2 separate regions of the Homo sapiens genome follow, and region 2 is linked to region 1. The links are contacts of gene promoters, found by promoter capture Hi-C in human tissues and cell types (Jung and others, 2019). All regions are on one chromosome and are shown on one strand. The core of a region is centred on a gene start or on the middle of the fragment in contact, and the rest is flanking DNA. Distances in the headings are between cores, read along the strand shown. Region 1 holds the start of AQP4 (aquaporin 4). Region 2 overlaps CHST9 (carbohydrate sulfotransferase 9).

The links. The method cuts DNA at HindIII sites, captures the fragments that hold promoters and counts their contacts. A contact is called where the count stands out against the background at its distance.
Region 2: a contact is called between a fragment that was not itself captured here and the fragment with the promoter of AQP4 in region 1, in 2 of the 25 tissues and cell types used here (dorsolateral prefrontal cortex and lymphoblastoid cells).

What each region holds. Positions count from the first base shown.
Region 1 is chr18:26,862,639-26,870,569 of GRCh38, reverse strand. It overlaps AQP4 (aquaporin 4), which reads left to right and starts at 4,863. Exons shown (of 5, transcript NM_001650.7): 1 at 4,863-4,912. The coding sequence starts at 4,881. AQP4-AS1 (AQP4 antisense RNA 1) reads right to left here and starts at 5,262. Exons shown (of 8, transcript NR_026908.1): 1 at 5,210-5,262. RefSeq lists an enhancer at 7,114-7,614. The HindIII fragment of the contact is 8,928 bases long and covers 1-7,931 here.
Region 2 is chr18:26,949,547-26,957,477 of GRCh38, reverse strand. All of the region lies in intron 4 of CHST9 (carbohydrate sulfotransferase 9), which reads left to right. It also overlaps the pseudogene ATP6V1E1P2. Among named protein-coding and RNA genes, the nearest start is that of AQP4, 88 kb to the right of the region's middle. RefSeq lists enhancers at 1-330, 331-918. The HindIII fragment of the contact is 6,843 bases long and covers 1-6,520 here.

The DNA of each region.
Region 1 (7,931 bases), core at 3,614-6,113:
AATCTTACCCTTCTCCTTCCACTACACAATGGTATTATCAACAAAATCATTACCATCACTTTATCATCATCATCATCAACACCAACACAGTAAGAAATTTCACAGGACATATATTCCCATAACTACAGCTTATATTTTAAAAGAGAGATAAGGTAGCATCAAAACACCAGTGAATGAGTCAATATATTACCTAGTTATAACTGTAGAGTATCACATAGGCTTCCGGTTGTTATGGGTTTTTTAAGTGACTAGAACCAAGCAAGTTTGCGAAGAGCAGATTTCATGAAGGAGATAAATACTGAGGAGTGTTTGAAGAAGAATCAGAAAATCCTGTGGCAGTGAGAGAAGGGAAAGGGATTGAGGATAAAAGAATCACCTAAGTTGGCTCCAAGGTGGGGCCTGACAAGGTGTGGTCGCAGCATACTCCCTGCAGCAAAAATACAGGCCAAAGTGAGGCAAGAGATAAGAACACCCAGGAAAGGTAAAACCAGTAATGCCAAGACTTGACACTTCTAAGTCCCTGTGAATTTCAGATGTGCTTTCCTGATTGTATGAATGTGAAAAAAAAAAAAAAAAAGCACAGAGGTTAAAGAGAAGGATGTATGATCACTTAGGAAGGAAAAAAAGAAAGCATCTGAATTATTAGAAAGGTCATCGAAGGCCATTCCTAAATAACTTGACTGTTGAGATCAGTCATTTCTTTTTGTGGTCACAGATTATGGCCACTTCTGCTTCTTTAAAAAGTGTTCTGTTTCTAGCATTATTCTGAAAGCATTTTTTTTAACCACCTAGTTTTTTGGCCTACTCTGCCAGTCATACCCCATGTGTACAGAATTTTAAACACCTTTTCTGTCCTTGAAGCTGGAAACATCTTTGTCAGTCTGCTAAAAATATGGGTACTCTGAGCCCTTCTGTAATGATCACTGTGTAGATGACAGAGGTTGCTGAGTGAGAGTGGTCACCAAAATGTTGGCTTAGCTTTTAATATATTCAAATTTAATTTAAATTCTAAAACAATTACTAGTACAGGCTACACTTAGACTGTTAACCATTTCAAACATTTTGTCCAACCCATTAAATCCCGAAGTCCTTTGCTTCCCGGAGAACTGATTGTCTACTATGGACGTCTGAGCTGTTTTTTTAAATGCCCAACCAGACTCTGAGCTGTCATATTAGCTGGGTAAGAGATAAGGTGTAAGAAAAGTATCCAGTCATCCAACCACATTTCTGGTTTTTTGTACCAGCTTCAGATGAAATACAGTCACTCAATAAAGTCCTTCTGTTTTCTCTTTCCCTCCCTCTCGTTCTCTCTCCTTATTTGCCTAGTGAGGGGAACCCTAAACCCTTTGGAGCTTTTCCAGCAGCTCCAAAATAATCTCTTGATTATTTTCCCAGGGAATTCCTGCCTTAAATGTCAGCAGAGTACAACTACCCCACCAAAGCAGTCCGCCTGGATCTGAATCAAGAAAAATGTGCCTGCTACACCAAACATAAAAACCTGGATCTGTGGGGCGTGGGGCACAGAGAGAGATTTATGGTGTTTGTGAAAGGTTCAACAACCATTGGAAAGATAGGTTTTCTCCAATTTACCTCACTAAGGAGCAGGAAGCTAAGTTAAACACTCTGATTCCTTGCTGTATTTGATCATTATTTTTATTTCACTCTTTCGGTGGTGAACTCTATTTCTGGAAGCCATCCTGAATTATAACCATAAGGTAAAGCTTCCTTGAAAAAGGAACAAAGCCCCATTAAGCCCTTCGTCGTGATGGTTGTGGTTGCGGCTGCTGCTGCTGTTGTTGTTCTGTTTATTTGTTTGTTTTTAATGAACATACTGATATATAAGTGCTCTGGGGGAATTCATGATGCTGAGATTCATGAAAAGCAAAGTAAGATTTATGAGTTGCGATTGAATCTGCCCCTACCAGCCTGGAGACACTTCCCGTCTGGTACTGAGGCATTGCTGGCATGTTTAGTGCTTTTGTTTCAGTTTTCAATCTCTGAACACATGAAGAAATATTAAAAGTTCTGAGGGCAAGGATGGGAGAAGGAGTCCACAAATCCCAAAGATATACAACAGCACCCAAGGAAAATAGTATGGCATAGTAGATTAAAAATTCAGAAACAACAACAAAAAAAGCGTGTCAATTAGCTAGTGTTTGCTAAGTACTTGTCATTTTCACTTACGCTTCTCTCTGGTTCCTCATGTGTTACTGACCCACAACTTCGCAAGGCTATTGAACTAAAGATTCACAAGGTGGTCTGGCATAAAGACCAATTTTAAATCAATATGCCATGTAACTATCCTCCCCCAAAAGTTCGTAACACTATACAATGAGAAAGTCAAGAAAATATAATAAATTGTTATTCAATTTTTTAATGAATTGCGCCCTTTTAAACATACCAGTGGTGTGGGGGGTGGGGGGCAGTTAGATTCCAACTCTCACTTGGATCCAGGTCCACATCAAAACATTTCAATGTAGAAGGTATTACTCATGTTCACCAGAGCTTCCCACCTCCTGGTGGTCCACCACCACTACAAGCACATTATAGCTGCTTTCCTTCATTATCGCATTCTGCATACAAAGCCACAGACAATCGTGTGGGAAATTTCTGCCCCTAGTCCAAAGAAAAGCCAGATAAGTAGCTGATTATTGCATAGAGCTGACAGTATCACAGGAAGATCAGTAGTAGCAGCTCAAGTACAAAAAGGTTAATTAGCAATACTTAATAAGAAAAACTACCTCTGGCAGGTGAAGAGTTAATCCCTGGTCAATTTTAAGCTACTCTGCTGAGAGTACTAATAAGTGTAGGGGTTGGAGCCAATGAGGGTGACCCCTTCCTTGATGGGAACAGTCATCCCTTAGGAACTGCCCTGGAAAGCATCAGCCAGCCAGAAAACAGGGAAAGAGGCTGAGAAACCGTGGTAACCAAGTTTTGCTGGCACTTTGTAAAATGGTAACTGCAACTGCCGAGGCTGTGCAGAGAATGCTAATAAGCCTAGGACAACCTGTAAAGAGTGGACCTAGAAAATGTCCACCCACCGACCAGACCGGTAGCCCTAAAGAGCCCCACTCTGTAGATTCCTGAGGATCTGCCCACCGTACTCATTCACAAGGAAGCCCCTAAACATGGCTACATTGTGCCTTAGCTTCACAGCCCTCAAAATACTTCTGACTCAAATGTCTTAGGGTCAGAGTAATGACATTTAGCACATCTGCCTAGAAACTCACAGTTTTCCAATTTGTAACAAACATTTTGCACCTTTTAAAAATCTCATTCTAAAATCCAAATGGTAAACAGCTTTAAGAATCAATATGAAATGTTTTAAGTGTTCTCTGTGGCTTCATATAAATTCTCCCTGCCCCTCTCATCAGAATTTATTCTGACTTTCAGGGAGCATATTAAAGGTAGAAACCACTGATGTACAATAATAAGTGTGCAACCATATTCTTAAGAATCTAAATTCAATCTTGGTTAGCTGAGAATGCTTGAAACAGTAATAAAGTGCTCCTCTGAAAGTCACACTCAAATTTTGAATTCCTCTTTCTAATGAGAGCTCTTCACCCATTCCCATGTCTCAAGTACGCAAATGAAAACAAAACAAAAAAACTGTAACTGGGATTTAAAAGTATAACAGTCTTTCTTCTCTCATGTATTTCTTTCTTGTCATACTTCATTCTGGAAAAAAATAATCCAATCTGAAATATAAAGTGGGAAAAGGGAGGCATCCGTAGGTAATGTGAGTTATTATCATTGTTCTAGATGTTGGGTTGAGTGGTGGGTTCATAGATGTTCATTACATTATTTAAAAGCCATTATAATTAACTATTAGAAAATAAGAGGGCCATACATGCACGAGTGATGACAGAGTGTCATAAATCAGGAATTCTGATTATTCCAATCCCATGCACCTAAGATCTGTTTAAAGAAAAAATAATAATGAGATGGTGATGCAGGTAGCTAATGGTTAGACCCTTCTAGAGTTCACCAAACTCCTTCGGCAGGGACGTCTTCATAAGCATGCAGCCTGCGCAGCTGCACAAGGTCCTGCCTTTAGGAGCACCCAGCCTTTATTTATGCTCTGCTGTCGCAATCTTGAAATTTAAATAGTGTTTTACCAAGGTGTCCTGCATTCATTTTGCACTGGGACCAGTAAATTATAAAATCAGTCCTGTCCCTAAGTTTCCAGAGGTTAAATTTACCTACAGTTCCCCATAATTTCGTCCCCATCCAACTTTGATATTTTTTAAGTTTGCTACTTCTTATCCCCAGATTATTAATGTAACAGTCAGGTGAGCACCCTAGAGCAGTCTTTTTTCCTGTATTTCCTATGTTTCCTTATTTTTATTGTCCAAATCAGTGCTGCCTGTGCTATAAATGGAGCTGCAGTTATATATTGTTCTTATAATGCTTCTTCTCAGATCAAAAACTTCAAACAGAATTCATTGGCTAAAAACTAAATGCACTGAAGTCTCTATCTAAATTCATGTTAACTGCTGGATTATACAAATTCATTTTCTAATAATTGCCCAATTTCAACTACAACATATAACCAAACAAGACAAATTCTGAACAATTCTTCATGGTAGAAAGAATTCAAATAAAGATTTAAGGAAATCCTCATTTTCAAAAATTACTGTCTCAAAAAAAAAAAAATTAAGTAAATGTTTTTGCATTCCTGAAATGCCCTGTGTCTACAGTGATCAGGTACAGAAAAGCTACTTCAAGTTCAAATATAACTTAGCGATTGCCACATGGTGCAGAATCTTTCCACCCCTAACACTCCAAAAACCCAATCAGACAAGTGGCCGTAATCTGACTCCCAGCACACAGGGAGCTGCGGGGCAGGCAATGAGAGCTGCACTCTGGCTGGGGAAGGCATGAGTGACAGACCCACAGCAAGGCGGTGGGGGTAAGTCCTTCTTTGCCTTAAGGGAACAACGCTTAGGGCCAAAAGATGAAACTGTCTCTTTTATTATAGATGTTTGTGCCTTCTTAGGCAGAATCTGGAAGGCAGCTATAGGGCAGGTGGGTGGTTCTTTTAGATCTGAGTACTGGGCATTTTCAGAAGAGAGGCATAGAGAAGGTAGAAGAAAAGGGATGCTTTTTAGCCAAATCCTCCATATGTTTCAGATCTGCAAAAGCCCAGGAAAATTACCCTATGGAGGTGAATCTAGCTATAGTACATTTCTTCGGAAAAATTACTCACCCAGACGCTCAGCTGTCCTGGAGTGGATGAAGCTGAGTGTTCAGCTAGAAAGTAATGTGTCCGATTCAGTACATCAACAAACCCGCTTTGTTCTGGGGCAAAAGAAGCAAATCTAATTGTGTTGATCATTTCCAGTGACTGTGAACATATAAGGGAACACTGACAATAAAAGCAGGGTGCTATGGGTGACGCTAGGGTGAGCCCTCATAAGGCCAGAGATATGTATATGCTGCCAGCAAACTTCACGGTTCACAGCCAAGTGAGGCTGGTCCATCTGCCTTGGAAGAAGATCAGATTTTTGTGGATTTAAAAAAAAAAAAAAGCTAAAAACATTCTTAAAGAGCATGTTTATGTTTTGTGTTGGTGTTTTGCACTGTTTTAAATTTCTCTGGTTGATGAATATTTGAAGCTGAAAGAGCAACTACCTCTGGAGAGGTAAACAGGTGCATGACAGGCCAAGCAGGGAGAGAACTCCGGAAATGGCAGAAGTGAGAGGTGAAGGGGGTGAGCAGCGGGGCTGGCCTTTTCTGGGTCCCACCTCTTCTGGTGTCTCCTGCGGGGCTGAAAAGGACGTTTCCTGCCCACCTAGCTTCCTTAGCCTACTGTTTTGTCCTCCTCCTTCTCCCCTAACCCTGACCACAAACGACAGCACCTATGATCGCATTTTGCCCCCTTTGCCATCCCGGCTACAGCCCTGGGCTGCCGGTGAGTTCAGAAGTGACTCTCCTAACTTCTTCAATATGTGACTTTTCTGAGTTTACCGTCTTTGGGAATATTTTTAGTGTCTCCTCCAGGGTGCCCTCCCTGCCCCATTGCAACCATCGTTTTTGTCTCTTTACATTCTTTTCCTCTAGAGAGTATGATGTCGTTGTCATCCCACCTGGGGTTTTTCATACTTCTGAGATTCGCTTCACTGGGGCAGGGGATGCGTGGGATGTGGCTGGCCACCCCCCTGTGGAGCCAGCTCTTCCTTTATCCTGCCACCCGGGCCTGGGCAAGAAAGGGTTTTTCTCTCTCCACCTCTAAAGCAAAGCCCCATAGCAAACTAAGGGCTAGGCTGAGCTGGAAATTCCCCTCACCCTTTTTGGCACTGCATTTCCTCACTACCCACGCAGAAAGCAGGTTCCCGGGAACATTCAGTGACATGGGGAAATGAGGGCCCCGCAATTTGTCAAAGGGAAAGCCACAATAATACTAATCTCTTAAAGTACTTGGCTTTCTTGCCTAACCCCTTACGTGGTCCTCTGCAATTAGATTCTCTGGTAAATACTCTCCATACTTCTTGGCTCTCATGACTATCACAGGCAAAGGACAAGGGCAAAAGTCTTAGATGATAGGGTAACTGGGGTAATTGCCCCCCCCCCCCAAAAGGGGAATCCTAGCCATTTCCTGCCAGAATGAGCAGTTGGCATCAATATCGTCAAACCACCCCTTCTCTGCTCCAAAGATCTAATGACAGCAAGAGGGATATAGACGGGAGGAGAAGGCGTCCTCCCTCTCCCAGACTCCCTGCCCACCACCCTCCCCAGAGAAGCTCCACAAGGTGAGACACACTGTCCTATAGGCCCATGTAACAGAAAGCCATCAAAAAGACCGTAGAGAAAAGCCGTTTTCCATAGAGCCTTCTGCTCAGGGGCCCACAGTTTCCCTAACCACACCCGCTTTTCCTGACTTCCCGAGCTCTGCACCATGAAGGCAGGAAAGGTACCGGGGCATTGCTGGCACACCCCAGCCTCCAGGCTCCCTTTGGCAGGTTTATCTGCATTGTACGGTCAGGGTCAAGGGGTGAGAGAGGGTCGGGCACGAGGAGAGGCTGTCCTTCCTCCCCTAAAAGCATCCCCCACTCCCATCTCTCCCCACCTCCAGCGGCCAGGATGCACCGGGCCGGCGGGCAGGCGGGCGAGCTCGCGGGGCCGCTTCTGCGTGTGCACCTGGCCGCCGCCCGGGAGCCTGCCACGGGCCGGGAATGGCCGCTGCTCCGCCCTCTGAGAGGTGCTCCAGGCTCCCTGGGGACGGAGGTTTACACGTCCCCGTGCCGCGCTCCCAGATCTGGGCGGTGCGCGTGTCCCTTGGGCAGGCTCAGCTCCCGGACTCCTCCCGCTGGCAGCCTGCTCGTTCCTGGCGCAAAGGAGAGGGAGGGAGTGTCGCTGTCCCAGCTGAGGCCCTGCCTGTTCCCATCGCCCTTGCTAGTCACCAGAAGCTCCTCTCCCCTCAATGAGTTCACTTTCTCAAAAGACAGCCTTCAGCACCCTGGTTTCCTAGAAGGCTTCCCCCTAATCCAGAGTCTGGGGGGAGGGGGAGATTTTCAGAATGCCATTTCAAAGCAATCAAATGCAAAGCTAGAAAAGACGACCCCCCCCCCCCACGCACACCTTGTTTTAATGCTTTATGTTCGAAATGTAAGTAGCATATAAAATGTACTCGAAACTTAAAAACTTGCTCTAAGGGAATTAAGTACAAGGTAAATATATTTTATTCTTAATATTTTAAGGAATTTGATTTAGACATTTTTCCTTTCTAGGGACAGTTTGGATAATTTTCCGTGAAACTGGATGATCTTTGAATATTAAATGAAAGGAGACTAGAATAACAGTCTCTTGACTATTCATGAAGGAGCTTTAGCAGAAGCATTCTTTCTTGGTGTGCAAATCACGCCTGGCAGCCCCTGCCCACAGTACCCGAAGATGGCAGGCCTTGTTCCCTTCACCTAAATTCATAAACC
Region 2 (7,931 bases), core at 1,850-4,349, 89 kb before region 1:
AATAGCTCTCAGTAGGGGATAAAAAGCAATTGATAGCTCTCTTTGGGACAAACGTACTGAGATAGCATGTCTACACTATCTATATTAGTACCTGGTCCTCTTAGCCATCTGTCAAAGAAACAGACTGACTTCAACCAACAGTTTCCATAAAACTCATTTTCTAGACAAAGAAACTGAGGTTTGACAGAGAATGAAGTATAGGCTTGGTGAGAGAGCATTCTGAGCTCCGTAATTCACTTAGCCTCTGGGCTCCTGCACCCCTCATCCTTTTTATTCTCAGTGTTTCAGGGCATTGTTCCTTCAGTTTGCACTGGGTTGGTTGGAGGTAGGCACCACAGGTTTGATTGATACAGCAATTTGCATCTCAAGGCATCGCTCGATAAATACAGTGCAATGAAAGGCTACTCTCTCACCAGCCAATTTCCCCCGCTGGGCTGACTTTAGAAGCTCATTGATGTCACTTCCTTCCTCAGTCAGCAAGTGAATTTTCTTTAATTCTCAAGACCAGCTGTCCATGCTGTCAACAGAAAGTTATTAAAATTCCTTTAAAGTGAATAAAAATAGCCTAAAAGCAAATGTACTTGGAAACAGGAAAGAATCAGTATGCAAAGTCCACAAACCTCTGAGCAAAATAATGTTGATCCAACCAGAGATTTCAAACATTGTATATTCAAGTTGCTAGAAAAAAATAATTAAAAGATGCTAAGCCACATACTTCTTAATCTTTTATTAGCAAAGGCTTATATAGTTAAAACATATCCCCCTAAATTTCATTCCGCCTTTTCAAGTATGATTTGAATAAATTTGAGAATGACTTAAGTTTTCGTTAAGTGGGATTCCCTCCTCTTTTCTTGCATAGGCCAGAGAATATTGTCATCTCCACCAGGCTAAGGCTATCCATAAGCAAGAGACAAACATTATCATTAGCAGAATCATAACCACTAGGACCACAAAAATAATATAATTGTGTGTGTGTATATATATAAAAAATTGTATATTATATATATAATTGTATATATGTACACAATTATATTATTTTTGTGGTCCTAGTGATTATATAATTGTGTATATATATATAGATATAATTATATATGATATATGTATATTTGTATATATGATATAATTGTGTGTGTATATATATATATATATATTTTTTTTTTTTTTTTGAGACAGAGTCTCACTCTGTCGCCCAGGCTGGAGTTCAGTGGCGCAATCTCAGCTCACTGTAACCTCTGCCTCTTGGATTCAAGCAATTCTCCTTCCTCAGCCTCCTGAGTAGCTGGGACTACAGGTGTGCGCCACCACACCCAGCTAATTTTTAGTAGAGACAGGGTTTAGTATTTTCAGTAGAGACAGGGTTTTACCATGTTGGCCAGGCTGGTCTTAAACTCCTGGCCTTGTGATCCACCTGCCTCAGCCTCCCAAAGTGCTGGGAGTATAGGCGTGAATCACTGCACCTGGCGCTATAATTATATATTTTAATTTATTGGAATTTTACTAGCTCAAGGGAAGAGGTAATTTTTTCTCATATTTAAATGGCTATAACTCACAGAAATGAACTATGTGGCTCCTGAGTCCCCCTGATCCTCAACTGACTGCGTGACCTCAGTCACTGGAAGATTGCCCTGTTACCTTCTGAATCAGCCCTTGCTTTACCCTTCAGGCCCCCAGCAGCTGAGCTCCTGCCTTCTTTCCTGAGTTGTACATGACCTGGTACCCAAGTCCCTCCAAAGCATGGATATGTTCCTTACCACCAGTAATCACCTGCCTCTTCCTTATTTGGACAGATGTCATGAATGCTGGACTCCCTCTGACCTTTTGCCAAGGAAACTTGTATCCAGCCTCTCTTGTCATCCCCAGACACACCCCAAGCTTGTGTCTTGGGTTCTTCTCCAGTGCCTGGGCTCTCAATTTCAGCCTGCACTTGTGCTGTCCAGCCTACCCAAGGCTTCCTTGCTACACACACTGCACAAAGTAATTAAAAGAAAGTGCATATATTTACCACAGCTGTGCCCCAAAAAAACTATTTGAGTAAATAGTTTAGTGGAAAAATGGTAGAAATTTGGGTAAATTCAAACTAAAAGGACAAGTATAATGTGGTTAATCATCAGGAAAATTGCAAATCATGATCTTGTAAGTTATGTAGAATTAACTCTCAGTCCTTCCCCTCAATTCCCATAATTTGGAGCACACTGTATTCCTAATACAGAACTATGATGGTATAGATGTGTAAAATACAAAAAAAAAAAAAAACAGAATTCTGGTGTAATTCCTGTTATTGAGGTGCTTAAACATTTTGGAAAATCAGTTGGGAACGAATATGAAAAGGGCTGCTATCACAAACAAAGCATTTGATATGGCCCAGAATTCATCAGCAGTCAAACTCAGGCCCTAATATCATCCATCTAAAGATTTTTAACCCATGTACCCTTTCTTTCATGAGCAAACCAGGGCCAGGAGCAGCTGCCCTCAATATGTTGGAGGCTAGTGCAAGGCTTCACCCACTGAGATCAATATATATATTGAACACTCTAGGTGTTCAATACATATATTTATGGAATAATTGATAGTGGTCTCAGTATCACTGAGCTGGGTCCTTAGGATACAATAAACAAAATGAATGTAGTCCCTGGCCTCAAGGAGCTTACATTATAGAATAGGAAACAAGCAAAAAAGTAACCAGACCTGCAAATAAAATAATTGCAAGTTTGTGGTAAGTGCTATGAAAGAAACAATAGGCTGAGATCAAGAATCACAAGAAGAGATGGGGTGACCAGGGAAGAACTCCTGACGTCTTAATATTAAAGTGAGACTTGAAAAATATGAAAGAACCAGACCTGCAAAATTGGAGAGAGAAGATAACAGCATGTGCAAAAGACAAGAGGCCAAAAAGGACCAGAAATGAACATAAGACCAGAGTAGATGGAGGGTAGAAAGGAAGGGAAACAGACAGCAAGGCAAGGTTGTAGAGGTGGTAGGAAAGAAGCAGATGGTGCAAGGCCTACAAGATGAAGAAAGGAACTTGGAGAGAGCCAGAGTGGCAACTGGGAGACCCCAGAAGGCTAACAGCATAGTCCAGGGGAGACATGTTGATGGGCTCAACAAATTGGGGACTGTGGTTAGACAGCATGCATTGTAGATATATTCTGAAGACACTGACACACTGTCCTGCTACCCATGGACTTCTTTGAGTCCCTGTTCCCCACCCTGTCATTGGCCCCTTGAGCTATTTCCTCGTCCTGTGCCTTTTCATAAGCAATAGCTTCCTCTCTATGCTTCTTTGAGAGGTAAGGACAGGGCCCCAGTCTGCTGAATGACCAAATCTGCCCTGTTTCAGATCACCATATTGGCCCTCTTTCCCAGATTCTCAGATTCCTTATTAAAATACAATTTGATGGTGAAAAGAGGGGGATGTGATACTCCAGAACTCCACAGTTCTGGAATATGAAATTACTCTACATGTGCAGATCTATAATGGGCGTATTTGCACCCCAGGAAAGAGGAATAGATTCATAATCTCATCTTCTTTTCCTTGCCCCATTTCAAGACTTCACATGTGGCACCTTCAAAACAGTTCAAGCACCCCTACAGAAGTGGTCATGCTAAATGTAGGTGATAGTACAGAAAGAGACAATGTCATGGAAAAGGGGAGAACAGAGCCAACCAGTTCTTTGGGAGAAAGGAGCAGGCTAATTGGGAGCAATGGTCTTGTTCACAGTTGGGTCTCCAGAACTTTGTACCCATCCATACATGACACCTGACAGCTGATCAAACAGTATTTGTTGGAATAAATGAATGAATAAAGTCAGGTACAACTCCTTCTAATCTTTATTCCCTGTATTCATTTGTTACCAATTTCTTTCAAACATTTCTTCAACAGGCTGTCTTTGATTTTCTTCATTTTCCTTCTCATTTCTACCTCCCTAGTCTAGGCCCCAACCCATCACTTACTTTGTGCAACCCACCAATGCCTCCTAGATATTCTCCAATTTCTCCCCCTACTCTGAGCAATTTATTTACCAGTTTAATGTTCCTTTATAACCCACCTCTGCTGAAAAAACCATAATTGCCCCCCAAATTGTCTATCGCTTTAAACATAAAGCAATTGACCCAGACCTGCCTGGGCAATGCTGTTTCTCTCTAAACCCTCTCCCCTAGTTAGGGTAGTCATCACCATTATTCTCCCCAACTTCCATCCATTTTTGAAGACCTAATTCAAATTCCACCTTCTAATTATTCTGATTCCTGTTACAAAGACAGGTCCTATCTCTGAACTTATTTTTAAGTTCTTAAACTCACCATATCTCTAGAATTTGCTCAGACATGCAAAAGAGATATCCAATAGATAGTACAATACAGATACTTAGATATCCATATTCAAGAGATATTCTTGAACTCCAAGAAGTGAAAGGCTAATAATAAATCAATTAAAATCATGGTCCCTGGTTGTTCAAGACATATTCCTGCATGAGTTAAAAGGGAGTATAGCAGTGATTAATGACAGCATACCTCTGGGAAACCTACTTGTTTCCCAAGACCAATCATATTGGTTTTCCCCATCTGTGTGCCCACAGCTTGCTAACCATAACTCTATGAAAACACTTCTCAGGAGGCACTGCAGTTTATCTTCACTTATTTCTCTCTGCCACCTGACCCTGACCTCCTTGAGGGCAAGCACCCTGCTGTATCATCTTTGCATGCCCAGCACTTAGGAGGTATCTGACACAGTGAAGGTATTATATTTTTTGGAATGAATATACTATACTGTAAGATATTAAACTTACATTTTTAGTTCTTAAGTTAGAGAAAATGACTACACAGCTAATGAGTCTGTAGTTCTGAGGGACTAGTAACTTACCCAGAGAAGCCTACATCCAAGAAATTATTTCACACGTTAGAGCCTATGGTTCAAAATAAACTTTCACAAGGTGGTAAAAGATACACCCAGGTACCAAGTGCTGCTGGATGGACTGGTCCTCCAGGGTTTATACCAATTGTCAGAGCCCCAAATGACTGTTCATTGCAGGAAATAAGATTTCCCTCCGGTAAAAACTATGGTGCAAAGGCAGTCTCTATGTACAAAATCCCCACCACAGACAATTGTTGATGTCCCAATTGCCCAGGAGTCCTACCTGCCTGAGGACATAGTTGGTGGAGTTGAGATCCACAATGGGGATTGTAAAATAAAGGTTTCCAACACCCTGAAAAGCCGACTGGATCTCAGGCCAGCAGATGATGCCAGAAGTCCGGGGAGCCTTGTTTGGTCCAAATGCCAACAGCTTTTGGGAGGTGAAGTCCATCCCTAGCCCTCCTGCTATGATGTGGAAGCTTCTGATATTTGAAGAAACAAGAATGTCTAAGTGGCTTCCTCTTTGCTGTTCGAGTATTGCTCTGTCTTTTTCAGTGGATGCCCCTCTGTCACTAATGTCCTTGCCTAATTGCTAACAATGGGAGAGAGTGTCATGTAATATGATCAGGAACCCACCTCTAGTTTATCTCAAAGTAGCACAGCTCCAGTTGGTTCTGCAGCATTAGGTGATGGGAGCAGATGGTGGCTGCATGCACTTCACCAAGATCTTCCTCTGGCTCCCAGCAACCTAGTCTAGAGGTGATGTGTATGGTGTTCTCTGCCCTGAAGTCTCTGCTCTTGAGATTTAAGACACAGGTGGCACATTATTCCTTCCAGCAGTAGTAGCTTCACTGTTACTGTTTGGGCCTAGAAATTTTCCTCATCTATAAATGTGATCTAAAATCTAAGCCATGAATGTGCTTTATTTATTAAAACAAAAGATTTATGTTGATTTAATTGTAACTTTTTATGTAAGGCACTACAAATTTATGGTTTGAGAGAGTAAAGTTCCTACTGAGATACCTAGAAAAGAAGTATTTTCCAAATCCCTTTGACCAAAAAAAAAACAAAAAGACTTTGAGCAACAGATAGATTCTTGCAGATCTATGCATGGCTGAAGAAGGTCTATTAGCCTCCTGCCATTTTCCCTTTTTTCCTGTGTGTTGGCATTTTTCTGAAATGCAGAATCATAACTGCTCTTAGATTCTCAAAGGGGCCTGTTACCTGAAAGAGGTTTAGAACCACTGCTTTAAACTGTTTAGGCAGCAAAATAACTTTCCCTAGAATTTTAATCAGTTCGGGGTGATTAATCAAGCAACTTACAATGAGAAGAATTAGTGAGTCTCACTGCAAAGTTTGGAGAATTTGAGGCAGTTGTCCTGGAATTATAAATCTTAGAGAAATAGGTCCTTCCCCACCCATGTTGATGATAGTGGGTTAGGGCTGTTTCTACAAATTTTATTCCTGAAGCTCATGAATGCACAGAAGTGTCTCAACACCACCTTCATCATAAGATGAGCCAACAGTGTGCGCAACCTGCCTCTGCAGTTTATTCTGCTTTGTTTTGTGAAGACATAATGAGATTAAAATTTAAGAAATCTGGGATGACTCTCCACTTAATCTGCCGGTCAGACAACTTTGTCAATTTTTTTATTTTTTCCCTCTTTAATCCTCTAACCAAAAGCTGGAGGGATAAGACCCAAATATGAGACAAAAAAGACTAGTTTTATCCTGAAAGTTAGCTTTAAAAAAATTTTGTTTCAATAATTTTTGCAGAACAGGTGGTTCTTGATTACATGGATAAGTTCTTCAGTGGTGATTCTGAGATTTTGGTGCACTCATCGCCTAAGCAGTGTGCACGGTACCCCATATGTTGTCTTTTCTCCCTCACCCTCCCTCAACCCTTCCCTCTGAGTCCCTCAAGTCCATTACATCATTTCTACACCTTTGCATCCTCATAGCTTAGCTCCCACTTATAAATGAGAACATGTGATATTTGGTTTTCTGTTCCTAACTTACTTCACTTAGGATAATGGCCTCTAGCTCCATCCAAGTTGTTGCAAATGCCATTGTTTCATTCCATTTTATGGCTGAGTAGTATTCCACGGTGTATATATACCACATTTTCTTTATCCACTTACTGGTTGATGGGCATTTAGGTTGGTTCTACATTTTTGCAACTGCGAATTGTGCTGCTAAAAACCTGCATGTTCATATGTCTTTTTTATATAATGAAAGTTTGCTTTTCTATGTCTTAAGAGTAGCTATGTTGTTCCTTAGAATGCTGGCTGTCCTTTCACCCATAGACCATGAAAATTTGGACAAGTTTCTGCATGTATTTGAGCCCTGGTCACATAATCTTTAAAAACATAGGAGGAATAATCTCTACTTTTCAGGACATAATGTCTGTGAGGTATGTCGCCTAGGCCCAGGGCACAGCAGTTACTCAGCAGCAGTGTGCTTTCCTCCCCGTACCTTGAGGAACAGCTGAGAAAAAGCATAAGAACTTGTTTGAATTCATTTCCTTTTGCTGCTGTAACAAATCACCAAAAACTCTGTGGCTTAAAACAACACAAATGTATGCATCTTACAATTCTAAAGGTCAGAGTTCAGATGGGCCTCACCAGACTAAAATCAGGGTATCAGCAAGGCTGCGTTCCTTTGCAGGGCTCTAGGAGTCATCTATGTCCTTCCCTTTTCCAGTTTCCAGAGGTTGCCCACAGTACTTGGCTCACAGCCCTCTTCAGCAATGGCATTACTCCGACCCCTGCTGCTACTGCCACCTCGCCTTCTCTCTGCTGTAAACTCTCCTGCCCCTTTATTATAAGGACTCTTATGATTACACTGGCTGTGTCCAGATAAGCTTCCCATCCACAGATCCTTAACTGAATCACATCTGCAAAGTCCCTTTGTCATGAAAGGTCCCGTATTCACAGGCTGATTAGGATGTGGACATGTTGGGGGCCATTATTCAATCTGCCGTAATTGTCATGTCAGCTTCTGTAACCTACAGGTATCTTCCTCTTTATTACAGGCACAAGCCTCACTTATTAACTTCCTCTTCATTTTTTTTCCTTCTCCC